Linked DNA regions of Homo sapiens: regions 2, 3, 4 and 5 are each linked to region 1. Evidence: promoter capture Hi-C in 16 types of primary human blood cells and fetal thymus (Javierre and others, 2016). All regions are on one chromosome and are shown on one strand. Each heading gives the region's core, a stretch centred on a gene start or on the middle of the fragment in contact. The rest is flanking DNA. Distances are from core to core; before and after follow the strand shown. Region 1 holds the start of PUS3 (pseudouridine synthase 3). Region 2 overlaps KIRREL3 (kirre like nephrin family adhesion molecule 3). Region 3 overlaps SLC37A2 (solute carrier family 37 member 2). Region 4 holds the start of HEPN1 (hepatocellular carcinoma, down-regulated 1). Region 5 overlaps TMEM218 (transmembrane protein 218).

Evidence for each region. The method cuts DNA at HindIII sites, captures the fragments that hold promoters and counts their contacts. A CHiCAGO score of 5 or more calls a contact.
Region 2: a contact is called between a fragment that was not itself captured here and the fragment with the promoter of PUS3 in region 1, in 3 of 17 cell types (fetal thymus, non-activated CD4 T cells and activated CD4 T cells). The highest score is 6.8, in fetal thymus.
Region 3: a fragment that was not itself captured here is called in contact with the fragment with the promoter of PUS3 in region 1 in 1 of 17 cell types (total B cells); the score reaches 5.1 in total B cells.
Region 4: the fragment with the promoter of HEPN1 here is called in contact with the fragment with the promoter of PUS3 in region 1 in 2 of 17 cell types (naive CD8 T cells and activated CD4 T cells); the score reaches 5.7 in naive CD8 T cells.
Region 5: a fragment that was not itself captured here is called in contact with the fragment with the promoter of PUS3 in region 1 in 6 of 17 cell types (naive CD8 T cells, total B cells, total CD8 T cells and 3 more); the score reaches 7.6 in naive CD8 T cells.

What each region holds. Positions count from the first base shown.
Region 1 is chr11:125,901,941-125,904,640 of GRCh38, reverse strand. It overlaps PUS3 (pseudouridine synthase 3), which reads left to right and starts at 1,435. Exons shown (of 4, transcript NM_031307.4): 1 at 1,435-1,471. DDX25 (DEAD-box helicase 25) reads right to left here and starts at 133. Exons shown (of 12, transcript NM_013264.5): 1 at 61-133. The coding sequence starts at 123. The HindIII fragment of the contact is 3,679 bases long and covers 723-2,700 here.
Region 2 is chr11:126,478,059-126,480,758 of GRCh38, reverse strand. All of the region lies in intron 4 of KIRREL3 (kirre like nephrin family adhesion molecule 3), which reads left to right. Among named protein-coding and RNA genes, the nearest start is that of KIRREL3-AS1, 64 kb to the left of the region's middle. RefSeq lists an enhancer at 1,360-1,861. The HindIII fragment of the contact is 3,515 bases long and covers 1-2,700 here.
Region 3 is chr11:125,067,479-125,070,178 of GRCh38, reverse strand. All of the region lies in intron 1 of SLC37A2 (solute carrier family 37 member 2), which reads right to left. Among named protein-coding and RNA genes, the nearest start is that of SLC37A2, 5.5 kb to the right of the region's middle. The HindIII fragment of the contact is 4,165 bases long and covers 1-2,700 here.
Region 4 is chr11:124,917,852-124,920,551 of GRCh38, reverse strand. It overlaps HEPN1 (hepatocellular carcinoma, down-regulated 1), which reads right to left and starts at 1,302. Exons shown (of 1, transcript NM_001037558.4): 1 at 1-1,302. The coding sequence starts at 801. The coding sequence ends at 535. HEPACAM (hepatic and glial cell adhesion molecule) reads left to right here. Exons shown (of 7, transcript NM_152722.5): 7 at 1-1,347. All of the region lies in intron 1 of LOC107984406 (a long non-coding RNA gene), which reads right to left. The HindIII fragment of the contact is 3,231 bases long and covers 1-1,775 here.
Region 5 is chr11:125,108,591-125,111,290 of GRCh38, reverse strand. The region is part of intron 1 of TMEM218 (transmembrane protein 218); the gene reads left to right. Among named protein-coding and RNA genes, the nearest start is that of TMEM218, 1.7 kb to the left of the region's middle. The HindIII fragment of the contact is 2,643 bases long and covers 109-2,700 here.

The DNA of each region.
Region 1 (2,700 bases), core at 186-2,685:
CCCTCTGCGAGTGGGAGCTCCACCCCCGCGGCTGTGGCCCCCCGGCTCGGTGGCGGTTACGTGGCTGTTCAGCCGCTCGCTCTCCGCCGCCCCTGCGTCGCCTCCCCACAGTAACGACGCCATGGCTGCGATTGCTGCTCCCGCCCCCAGCACGTGCTTCCACCACCGGCGCGAGGCGGTGCTGGCCCCATCCGCTGGCCAATGGGCTTCCTTAGGGGGCAGGCGTCCGCGTCCGCGCCCGCGACCACCGCGGTGCGGCGCGCAGGCGCTGGAAGGCTGGGTGGCGCGCGGAAGGGGCGGAGGGCAGAGAGCGGGGCGGGGGGCAGAGAGCGGGGCGGAGGGCAGAGAGCGGGGCGGAGGGCAGAGAGCGGGGCGAAAGGGCGCGGACCGGAGGGCAGAGGGGGCAGCTTCCGCAGAGTGGAGAGCGCCCCCCGCGCCGCCCCGCGGCCCGCCGCTCACACAGCCCTCCAGGCGGGAGCCCCCCGGACTCCCCGCCGCGCTTTACGCCCCGTGTCGGTTTCCCTGGAAATTTCCGCCTCCACATCACAAGATGTCAGAAAGGTTAGCGAATTGGTTAGCAAAGTGGAGACAAAATCTGATGAATTTGATATGACGAATGACCTCGAATGCCACAGTTGCGGAAAGGAAGCAGAACTGTTCAAGCTCTAACTGCTGTTCCTGCCCTAGATACCTGTGATGTTCCACATAGGCTTTTTAAAGCTTTTATTCTGAAATGTGGTCTCTTGTTAAAAACATTACCTTTCGGTATAACCTCTACGTCCTACATGCGTTTGCATAATCCGGTATAGATCCCTGGATCCCTGGTACTAATGATTTAATGACCGCTCAATTTGGACGAAAGAACCAAATTCCACCTCCCCCCCGCCCCCCAGTTTTCTAATTGTAATTTTGAGATTTTGATCAGCATTTCTGGAATTGGGGGCAAAAATACAAAAACCCACACGAAACTGCAGTCATGATCTCTCCGTGGTGCTGAAGCAACGCTCCCCGCTCTGTTCGGTCACTCTCAGGGCACCTAGTCGTTTGTTTTGAGATTATCATATTCATTTCAGCTTTTAATTTGAATTCTAATAGTAAATGTTTTTGTCTCTCAATGGTAACTTTCTTCTCATTTAACTAGGTATAAAATCGAGCCAAGATCTTCAATCTTTTAGTTTTCGTATAAGGATAGCAGAATTTGAAAAATTACCTTTTTTCTATTATTTTAGCGTAGCACTACAATTCCTCCTTTTATTGCTGTCCCGCCACAGGCCCAGATTCTGCCCTGTGGGCGGAGAAACGGTAGCTGGACTAGAAAACCTCAGGTAGATTCTAGCACCAAGCTCGGTTCTCAGAACTACATTTCCCACAAACTTGGACTACACCTCCCATGAGGGCTCGGGCGCCTGCGCAGAAGACGCACAGTGACAGCTTCCTTTCTCGGAAACGCGGCGCGGCCGGCTGCCGGAAAGTAAGTGTGGGATTTTTGGAGTGGGTTACTTTCTGGGTTCCACAGGGGAAGGGACAAATGGACACACTGCTGAACGGTTGTCTGTTGTCTTCTTTTTGCCCTCTTTCACATACTTTGGTCTTTTCAGGAAAGCATTGCCGTATGGAAATGAGACCTCGCTTAAGACCATGTATTTTTCTTTTGTGCCTGGTACTTTCTGGAGCTCTCGGTGGAAACTCGCCGCAGTAGGGTCGTCTTTAATTCCGTTGTGACGGGAGCTTCAGTGGTACTTGTACTGTGGAGTACAAAAGTGCTCTGCTGCCCCACTTAGAATTGGGTGCTCATAAAACAGTAGAAGTTGAGAACCCAGGAGTATGTGGGAGGCTGTGGCAGCAATTTTCAAATTATTTTGGGGATTGCCTTACATACAGACCACGATTGCTTTCTAGTGATCATAGTGCGTGTCTGCTAATCCTTTGGACAGTACTCCCTCTTCTTCCCTTTGGATTAATATAAAGTTTATCAAGAGGAATGCTATTTATGTGTTAACCCACTGGTTCCTGAGATTAGGACTTTTTTTTTTTTTTTTTTAAGACTGTCGCCCAGGCTGAGTGAAGTGGCGTGATCACTGCTCACTGCAGCCTCTACCTCCTGGGCTCAAGCGATCCTTCCACCTCAGCCTCCAACTAGCTGGGACTGCAGGCGTGCGCCATCTTGGCAGCCTAGTTTTTAATTTTTTAATTAACACACGGTCTCGCTGTGTTGCCCAGGTTGGTCTCGAACTCCTGACTTCGAGCGACCCCCCCTCCCCCCCGCCACCACCCCGTCTTGGCCTCTCAAAATGTTGGGATGACAGGCGTGAGCCACGGCGCCTGGCCCAATGTATGGAACATCTGGTGATGGCCGTTTTAGTTTGTAATTGGTGCTTAGGGGACACACGAATTCCCTCTCTGTGGTTACTTCGCAGCCCTGGCCAGGGTGTTACTTTAAACGTCTGCTTGGGAACTCCTGCACTTCACCCTGAATTAGGGTAAGGTGTGCTGGAAAAAGCACTGTAGTGTACCAAGTCCTGTTTTTGCCACAAATCTGCCTTATGACCAACTAGACTCACTCCCTGGCCTAGTTCTTTAGTTAGCACGGGAGTTGAACTTTGGAGACTTTGGTAATGTTGGACTTTGAGATCCAAATAATCACTGGAGTGTTTTGCATGTTAAAATCACCATGTAATTTTTGACCTCATAAAAAGTCGA
Region 2 (2,700 bases), core at 191-2,690, 580 kb before region 1:
AGGCTCATGCTTCCTGGGGCCCTCTGAAATTCAGACTGCGGGGAGGGAAGGGAGGAGAGTACCTGCCAGGTCTGAATGCCCCCTGGGACAGGCAGAGAGCCCGCTTCGCAGAGCTCTAGGGCCAGGACAAAGGCAGGGGTTAGTGGAAGGGCTGCTGCAGCTGCAGGGATAGTCTGGGAGCTGCTCTAACTCCAACAGAACATGTTGTAGGGTCAAAATCTCGAGTCTAAATTCCAACTTCACCACTTATGGCTGTGTGGTCTTTGCCAAGTAATTTGCCCTCTCTGAGTCTCAGCTTCTTAACCTATAAAATGAAGACCCTAATAGTCCCTGCCTCAAAAGATATTGAGAATAAAATGAGAGGACCTTGGCTCAGCACTTTTCACACAGCCACAAACCTAAATATTATTCCTAAAAATTAGACATAATAACCTACATTTGTATAGCCTTTTACAATGTTCTCTGTGTATCTTTCATATTGTAAGGTAATCCTCATGATAACCCTGCAAGATAGGTATTTTTATTATCTCACTTCCCAGATAAGAGGATTAAGGTTGTCGGATTATATAACTTGTCTACAATCATATGGCTCATAAAGTGATCGACTCAAGTCAAGTTCAGCTCAGCAAATGCATATGCCACCCTGTGCCCTGTGCAGCAGGCAGGCACTCTGCTGGGAGATGGGGATCCGGATGGAGATCATGGTTCAGGGAAGAGACACACACAGAGAGATTTCCATAGGATGTGGTAGCTAGTGAGTCAGGGGATGCCCAGGATGCTGTGGGATCATAGACAGAAGCCCTATACACTTGGCCCAACTGGCAGATTCTAGAAAGGCCGCTCAGAGAGGGTGCCCTCTGAACTAAGTCTCAAAGGGTGTGTAAGAGTGACCCAGGAGAAGACCAGTGGTCCAGGAGAACGCCAGCATTCCAAGCTAAAGAAACGGCATACACAAAGGAAGCTGTTCTGAAACAAGATCGTGTAACTCCAAAGCTAGTAAGCAGGGAGCAGTCTGCCCCTTTCTCTGGCCGGCCCCGGGGGAGCGAAGGGAGCAGGCAGCCTGTGAAGGGATCAAGGGTCCCCACACGTGCTCTTTGTCCAGTGAGCCTTCCCTTCATAGCACTTGTCAGTTTGTCATGATTTCTACCTCGGAACCCTTAGAGCAGCGCTCCTCCAGCTTGAAAATGTATGTGAATTGTCTGGGGTCTTTTCAAAGGCAGATTTTGACTTAGGAGGTCTGAGGTGGAGCACAAGAGTCTGCTTTTCTAACAAGCTCCCAGGAGGTGCCAAGGCTGCACACATGTCCGTCTTGGGCACTGGCCTGGAGTGGCAAGGGCCTCCCCATCAGCTCTAAGATGGCAGGCCGTGTATGGCTTCACTCAGCTATCATAGCCTCAGCTTGTGACATGGAGGAGGCTGGTGAGAGAAAGGTTGGGAGGGAGGGAGGCAGGAGGGCAGGACACATGGCAGGCTGACTGCAGGGCTGCAGCGGGGAACCTGGGGATGGAGAAGATGCTGAAGGTGTGGGAGATGCACCCCGAGGCTTCGGCATCCTCCCTCCACTGTAGTCAGTGCTGGAACTCCTAGCACTGACTCTCCCAGAGCCCCTGGGTCTGCGGCAGAACAAAATCAAAGAACCCACAAACGTCCTTCTCCCCACTCAGCCAAGTGTCTCTGATCTGTCACCATGCTCGGCCTGCCGCCCTCTCCCATCCTATGTTCCAGACAAATCAGAGGACAGCAGCCACGGAGAAACAGGCTGAGAATCAGCTCCCAGCACCAAGCCCCCCTCAGCCAGGCTTCCCTCTCTCGAGGAGAGACAGGGAGCACCAACCCTGATGCCACAGCAGCGCAGAGTTCCTACAGCGCTGTCCCAGCTGGCCTCAGAAGGGCTCCTGCTTTGCCCTCCTCCCTCCCACTACTCACGCAGCCCGTTCCCAACTGTACCCAATGCACACACACATGCATGCACACACACAAACACACATATACACACACATATACACACACACACTTACATACACATGTATACACACACCCATACACATGTATACACACATGTACATCTACATGCACATACATACACATACATATATACATATACACATACATACACACATACACACGCATACACACATACACACATATACATGCATATACATATACACATACACACGTGTACACACATATATACACATACACACATATACACACATGTACACACATATATACACACACACATACACACACACAAGATTTAAAACGCTGACCTCAGAAGCCAAAGCCCATGATAACCGTCCCCCCGGCCCCATCCCCACTCCCCTTCTGAGATTCTTTTATTTAACAAATAATATATTCAACAAATATTTCTTTAGCGCCTACTGTGTGATACAGCAATATCACAATGACCAAGATAGATAAGGTCTTTGTTGTCCTTTCTAGAACGGTGACAGATAATAAATGAACCCAGTGATCCAGAAAGTGCAGGGGTGGGTAGTGGAGAGTCACTGAAGGGCTCTTGAAGCTGCACCTTCATTGACGGGAAGAGCCAGCAGAGTGAGGAACAGGAAAGAGCGTTACAGACAGAGAGGAGCAGGGCAAGCCCGGCCCCGGAAGGAGCTGGGTTTGCTGAGCAGCAGAGACGCAGTGGGGCCAGGGTCTGCTGTGTAAGGAGTGGTTGGAACAGACCGAGGCCCCAGG
Region 3 (2,700 bases), core at 19-2,518, 830 kb after region 1:
GGAGCTCACAGCTCCTGCTCTTCCTGCCTGCCCAATTCACCCTCCTGCCCATTCCTGCTCATCCAGCTGTGGTCACCCTGGTATTTCCTCCCACAGGCTCTTCTTCTGCACGTTCTGGGCCATCCCCCTCAGAGGGCCCCAGGAAATGGGCCCAGCCCCATAAGCACCAGCCACAGTCATCTCCCATGCTGCCAGCTGCCCCCAGACGCACCCACACAGACACTGGTACAAAAGGCAGGAACCAGCCAGGCTCCAGGCTGGGGAACCTCCAGGTGCTCTGTGGCTCTGAAACGCCATGGACAAGCCATTCATTGTCATCCTGACGAGGAAGGCCTAACAGGAGGAGGAGAGCAACATCTTCCTGGACAGAAACTCCGCCATCTCTGACTCTTGCCTGGATGTCTGCAGCTGTCTCCACACACCTGGCGCCACATGACTCCCAGCCTCCTGTCCAGGGGCACCTTTTGTTCCTACCAGCTGGAGCTACATGTTACTACTTCAGAGACAGGGGACAGGCCATGTCTCCACTTGCATGCCTTTGCTGGCTCTGTGACCTCTGCTCAGAACACCTCCAGATCCAAGTCAAAGACTTCCTTCTTCTCCTAATGGAGATGATTCTCTCCCTCCACAGAAATTTATAAGCACCTAGCCAATACCAACTACGCTAGACACTGGGCTAAGTGCTTTAAGCAGCTTCTCATTTAATTTCACCAAAACCCCGTGATATAGGTACATCATTTTTTCCATTTCATAGATAAGGAAATTGAGCCTGGGAGATGTTAAGTAATTTGTCCAAGGCCAAATGGCCATGTAATCTTTTCCCCACCCAACACTATCATTAGGAAGGCAGCGGAAAGACCATGGGCTTACGAGTCAGACTAATCTTGATTCCAACTCCAGCTCAGTCATTTATCAGCTGTGTGGTGCTGGACAGGCTTACATAACTGCTCTGTGCCTCATTACACTCATATGTTCCACAGGGAAGCTAACATTCACCTTGCAGTTCCACAAAAATTACAAATAAACAATGCCTGGCACAAAGTAGTAGGAAAAACAAATAGAATATAGTCAATCATTAGTGTTTACTCAGTGTTTCATATCAGCCTGGCACTGACCTAAGTACCTTACACGTAGTACCTCATTTAAACCTCAAAACACTCGTGTGATACAGGTATTATTATTATCCTCATTTTACAGAGGAGGAGTCCAAGGCCCAGGGCCAGTCCACTTTCAGCTTCCTATTCTGTCTTCTTCACTTCTTAAATGCCCTCCTTGGGGACATGTGAAAGCAGTTAAATGTGACAGAGATTTGATTTCTCATTTTCAGACTATAAGTCTTTATTTTTATTTGTCTGCACCCTGGCCTGTATTTTGTTTAGCACAAGAAAGGTGAATTGGGTTAATATGTATCTGTAATAATAACATCACCATCATTAATAATGATAGTAAAAGCCGCCATGTATTCCATGCTTCCTGTATACCAGGCAATGTATACATATAATCTCTAACCTTTTATGTGTTAAGTGCTCAGCAAGTCAGTTTTCTTCAAAATCTCCCCAACCGACTTCTGCATTCCCCTCGCTGGTCCTCTGAATGACATGGCACATAGGAAATGCCATCCTTTGGCACTCAATAAGTAGAGCAGGGCCTTCTAAAATTGCTGACTGTGTGTACACAGCCCCTCTCCAGCTTGATTCTTAGTTCCAAGAAGGTAGAACCCTGTCTTGATTGTCTTTGCAGGCCTCAGAGCTCAGCATAATAATGTACTTACAGAAGAACTACGTGACATTTAGTGTTTGATAGGAATCCAAATCTAAACTTATCTGGAAGGAAGTAAAAGGATACCTGTTGAGTACCCTCCAGCAGCCACAAGACGTCAAGAATGTTTCCTTATATTATCGCATTTATCCTCAAGAACCCATCTGACTTTTATTGATGAGGAAACTGGGGCTCAGCAAAGTCAAGGCTCACAGTGGTGAAAGGATTTCAACCAAGGTCTGTCATAAATCCCAGAGATGTTGGGGAATACCGTAGCTGAATTCACACCTTGAGAAGTGTGAAAGTGAAGAGTGTTGGAGGCTGGAGAAAGTCATGTTATGCGTATTACTGAGCCCTTCTAGAATGCCAATGTGTTCTAGATGGTTTATAATGATCCACCCTCCCCACTCCCCATTCTCTCTGAAATGTTAGTTACTTTGGTTAAAAGATATAACTAATATACATGAATGAGACTCTACTAGGAACAATCGTGGCAGAGAGGTATGACTTTGTATACATGGTATTGAAACCTGTTTTTGTTTATTAAAAGGAAAAATATTACACATAAGAAAAATGACTGGTTGTTCCAGAATAAGAAAGGGAACAGGGAAGGTCAAATCTGAATGGATACATTTTAGGTTTGTAGAAAGGAAATTTGATTTGTCTTGGATTATAGTACATCAAACAATAAGTCTAAAAATAAGCAATTAAATGTGTTAAAATTTTGCCAAAGTTGGCAAAATCTTGATAAGTTTGTGAATATTTAATTTAAAAAGAGGAAGGGCTCCTGGAAAACCACAAAGATTTGTTCTTTCATCTTTTAAAAAGAGAGGTGCTAGAAATCATTAGATTTATTTAATATGTTAATATTGATCAATTGCTTGGAAATAATTGTCAAGTCAGAAGAGATGCTCAGCCTTCTCTAGGTTAAATTTATATTGG
Region 4 (2,700 bases), core at 53-2,552, 980 kb after region 1:
TTCCCTGGGCACCTGGTACCTGGGGACCTACAAGGTGGTGAGGGAAGGGTACGAGTACATTCCTTTTCCCTCTGACCTGGGCGCTAGCAAGGGCAAAGAACCCGAGCCTGCCAGCTTGGCCTCCTCCCACAGCCTCCCTCGGAGGCATGCCATGCCAAGCACTCTTTCTGTCTCTGTTCATGAATAAAAGAGATGGATGGGCTTATTCTTATAGAGAAGTGAATTTCACTTACTCCCCTGGCCCGAAAACTAGACCAAATGAGGAACTGTTTTAGCTCATCAAACTCATATATTCCTCCTGGCTTCCTTACAAAACAAGCCTTTCAAACAATCATTGTCCTCAGGAAAGTTGTTGAGCTTCCTCCAGCTGTGAGAATAAGTCCTAATCTCCAGAGAAATGGTGGGGGGAGGAGGAGGCTTATTGCTTCCCAGCATTTGGGGGGAACATGATCCAACCCCTGGCCTCCTGCCACCCATCTGCCCTGCTCCCACATGCTCAGGTCCCAGGGCACAGAAAAAGGGCAGACTCCCTAATCACACTAACATCAAAATAAAGAGGCTGGGCCGCTGTGTAGCCAGGACATGCCCATGCCACCGCCTATTGAACAGTTCATAGGAGTGGCAGTAATCTACTGTGTGAGGAGAGAGGGCAATTAAAAAGCTGAAAGAGAAGGAGGCCCTCTGTGTATTCCATTCCCTCCTCCTTAATGCCTCCAAGGGTCCTTGCATCCCTAGTCTCCTAAACTCCAGCTCTGATTCGCCATCAACCCATGGAGCAATTCCAAGGCCCCAGTTACCCATCACCTCCACACCAGGTCAAGTTTTGTCTCAGCCCCAAAGGCACTGACATTTCTAGTTTGCCCCCTCTGCCCTGAACCCCACAGCATGCCTGTCTCAGCTCCCTGTCCCTCGGCACTTCCCCAGGCTCATTTGAGCAGGTGTGCCTTCGCAGCTCCCCTAAACTTCCCAGGTGCCTCATCCATAATGAGATAATGCATGTAGGGGAAAAGTTTCTCAAGAAGGTGGAAGAGGCAGCAGGACTTGGATAAGGAGTACCTGCTGGTCAGCCTTGAGATGCACAGGTGAAGGTTAGGGTGAGATGAGAACATGCCATACCCTGGTGCTGAATCCCTGAGGGGCCAGCTTGCCAGGCTTAAGCCAAATCTGCCTTAAATTGGGGGTGGGGAGGGGTAAGTAAGGAAGTGGGGTTTGTTTTTGTGTTGTTTTCATCTTCATCTTTGTATTACTAGCATCCAGCAGAGTGCCTAGCACATACTGGATGCTCAATAAACTTTTGATGAAATGAAATGACAACTTTATTCCACATAAACAAGGGTAACAAAACAAGCTGCTTAAATATACCAGTCATTTCTCTTCTTCTCCTTTCACCTCCTTTACCCTCTTTCCAAACCCCAAATTGTCCGTTCCAAAATCACTTACCCGTTCATTCATTTACTTATTCAGGTGTTCTTTTATTTATTCGACAAACATTTGTTTACCTACCATGGACTAGGCCCTGTGCTAGACACTGCTGATACAGCATAACTATGTCAGGAAGACAGATCAGTAAACAGATTACAATATAGTGTGTAAAATGCAATGGCAGAAGTAGATACAAGGTGCTCTGGGAGCATGTAGATTAGATGTCAGCAAAGGCATCTTGGAGGAGAACAGACCTGAGTTGAGTCTTTCTTAGAAAGACTTGTTAGTTAATCTGGTTTTTAAAAGTATGAGAGGACACACTCCAAGCAGAGGGAGAAGCATGTATAAAAGCTTGGAAGTGCAAGACACGATGGGGGGGAATTCAGGGTACTGAGCCTAGCAGTTGATGAAATTATTTCAGGAAAGTATACAAAGTAGAAGGTGAAGAAAGCTGCAGATAGATTTCTGAGGCATCAGTATGTGTAGAAAATTTAAAAGGACTTCACCAAGAAGGCTTAAAAGGCACAGCCAGCAAGATAGGAGAATATATAGGAGATAACTATATCACACAATCAAAAGAACAAGAGAGTTTCAAGAAAAAGGGAGCATTCGGGACTACAAGGGCAGGGGGCTCACATATGAAATGAAGTTAAAAGTGCATGTTAAATTTGGCAACAATGAAAACATTGAGTGACTTGGCATAAGTAGTTTCAGACATGTAGTAGGGGTTAAAGCCAGATTGCAACAGGTAAAAAGTGATATGTGGAACTTCTCTGCTAAATACTTGAGACTAGATGTTTGAGAGGTCTTCCTGTTTCAAAACAACTAGGTCTTGCTTAAATGATATTTGTTTTGCATTGCTGGCTTCAAGAGATGGGGGAATTTTTTTTTTTTTTTCAGACAGAGTCTCATTCTTGTCACCCAGGCTGGAGTGCAATGGCGCAGTCTAGGCTCACTACAACCTCTGCCTCCTGGGTTCAAGTGATTCTCCTGCCTCAGCCTCCCGAGTAGCTGGGACTACAAGCACGTGCCACCATGTCCAGCTAATTTTTGTATTTTTGGTAGAGACAGGGTTTCACTATGTTGGCCAGGCTGATCTCAAACTCCTGACCTCATGATCCGCCCACCTTGGCCTCCCAAAGTGCTGGGATTACAGGCATGAGCCACTTCCCTGCCAGAGATGGGGGAAATTTTTAAGCAGTCAGAAGTAAAACAAAATTTAAAAGCACAGTGAGCTCAAAGTACTTAGCACTCATTAAATATGAGATTACCAAGGGA
Region 5 (2,700 bases), core at 181-2,680, 790 kb after region 1:
CCTCTCTAGCTCCTGGGAGGTGGCCAGGTGCACATTCTGAAGACGAGACATGGGGGGCATTGTTTTCCTGTCGCCAGTTTGAATCTGCAACAGGGTTGGGGAGAAGCTTAGAGTTCAAGTGGGGTGTTCCCAGGCTGCAGTGCTGTGAGATCCAGAGAGCGGATAGACCGAGGCTCTGCAGCGCTTCCAACCCACAACACCGTCCAGGAGAGGGATGCAAGGAAGAGACCTAGGTTTACTGATCCTCCTTTTTCTATCAACGTGTTAAGAGCAGATGCTACATCGGTGGCATTTTGGGAGCTTGGCAACTGATTTTTTCCCCAGGCTTGCATTTTATCTAATTACAAAGGTAGAGGCGTTATTCTAATATTTTAAAATTCAAAAGATAGTGAAGTGTTTAAAGTAGAAACATAAAAGTGTGAAAGTAACCCCCCCCCCCCGTTATTTTTGAAGGTTTGGAAAACAGCTATAAAGCAAAGTGAAAAGGACTCTTCCAGAGGAGCACTTCACTCCTTGTAACCCACTGTTTTCTGTTGCTTTCAAGGGCTTGAGTCAGTGTGAAAATCGGGGGATGGGTGAGATATCTCCCTCCAGCAGCAGCACTTAGGCCACATTACCCTCTGAGGAATCCACATTTGTCTTAGATAGTAAGTCATCTTATAAGTCATCTTATAATGGCAGTTAGTATTCTCGCTCATGATGATCAACCTGGTGATGAGTACCGTATTTTTAATCCATTAGGTTACCTGTGCAGGGATCAGTCCATTTATTCCTATTTTCTCTGACAGCTGGATGAAAGGGTATGTAGAAACAACCATTAAATGAACACACACATCTAAAAGGTTTTGAACAAACTCTCTCAGAGAAAAACCTCACAGCATTGAGCACAGAAGGAAAACATTAGCCCTGTAGTTGCTTTTGTTGTCAGCTGCTGAACTGTTCAAATTTAAATTATTTTTTTTCACTCCAGTCTACCTGCTTTAAATGCCACAGATATTAAGTAAATGGACTTACCCTTGAAATCGGGTTGGCCAAGCCATCACTTCTCAAAGAAGGTTTAATGATGGCATGAACCCGTTTTTATATTTTATTGTATTGTACTCAATAACAATAATTTAGCTATTCTAATATGGGAAATTATCACAGATATTATTCTCACATTTAAATAAGATAAAAATGACTAGATGTTCTCTCTTCCTCTATAGCAGCACTCTATACTATACCCAGCCCTTCTTTTCTATGCTTAGTAAGAAAATGTATAGTTTGCTTATAAAATTATGAGCTCCATTCTTAAAAGAGCTTGGGAATATTTATCTTATTACTTTAAAGCCATACCATATATAAATCCAATGTCTCACGAACTCTTAAGCTACTAAGGGGGATTGAAGGGCAACATTTCTAATGGCGCCAGCCAGCTTCAACTACCATTTGCCCTCTATTCTAACTGTTAGAGTTGGTCCAAGTCTTCTGGGTTATTTGTGTAATATCCAGAATAGCACAAATTAAATTTAAATAGTTGTTTTCTTAAGAGCAGTACCATCAGCTCAGTCAACTAAGCTAGAAACTTGTGTCATTTCTAACACCTTCTCCCTTGACACAGCTAAGACTGGAGGTCAGACCCTCATCATCTCTTATCTGGAGAATTGCAATAGTTTCCTAACTGGTCACCCAATTCATATGCATCCTGCTGCCCATTACCTTTTTAAAAATTAAAAATTATCACGAAAAATTTAAAAACAGAAAATAGTACATTGGGTAGTATAATATCTATGTTCCACCAATCAGATTAATAAATATTAACATTTTGGCACACCAGCTCAAGTTTTTTATTTTAAAGAAATAAAACATCACAGATTTAGTTCAGATCCCTTTTATTTCCACTCCTAACCCCATTCCCTTTCCTTCCTCCCTCTGCAGAGGCAAATAGTCTTTTGAAATTGTCATGTATTGTTTATGCCCATGTTTTTATACTTTTGCTGTATATACGTTCGTCAGAAACAATATATATTACTGTTTAGATTGTATTTAATTTTAAAAATACAAGTAGTATCATACTGTGGGTTCCATTTTGCAACTTGTTTTTGTCACTCAACATTGTTTTTGAGATATATTCACATCAATACATATAGATCAATTTCATTCATTTTAAGTATTCATTATGAATATATAATATTGTATCTGTTCCCTGATTGATGGACATTTAGGTTTTTTCCTGATGTTTTGCTATTGTAAACAAAGCTGCAATAAACACCTTGTACATGTCTCTTTATGCAAGACTGTGTCTAGAACAGTGGTTCCCCAAGAAGATGTTGCTGCCCGTTTTAGGGTGTTTTGGAATTTGTGAAGATGTATTTTGTTATTCTTTGATTGGAGGCACTACTGGGGTTTACAGATCAGGACTGCGGATACTGGATGTTCTGTAATGTATGGGACAGTCCTCACAACGAAGAATTGTCCTGCATCCTGTGCAAATTTTGAGTATCCCACAGGATACTCATTTATAATTATCTGAGTGTAGAGCCTAACTCCGGTTTTTGTATAAACATAATGTATTTTTTGGCACAGTTTAATATAGTAAAATTTCCAGGAATGCAACTCTAATGTAAATCAGAGGAAAATTATACTTATTTGTGGTTTGGAACTTTAACAAGAGTTGTTCATCACTCTAGCAAATCACATAACTGAAGGCAGCACAGCTCG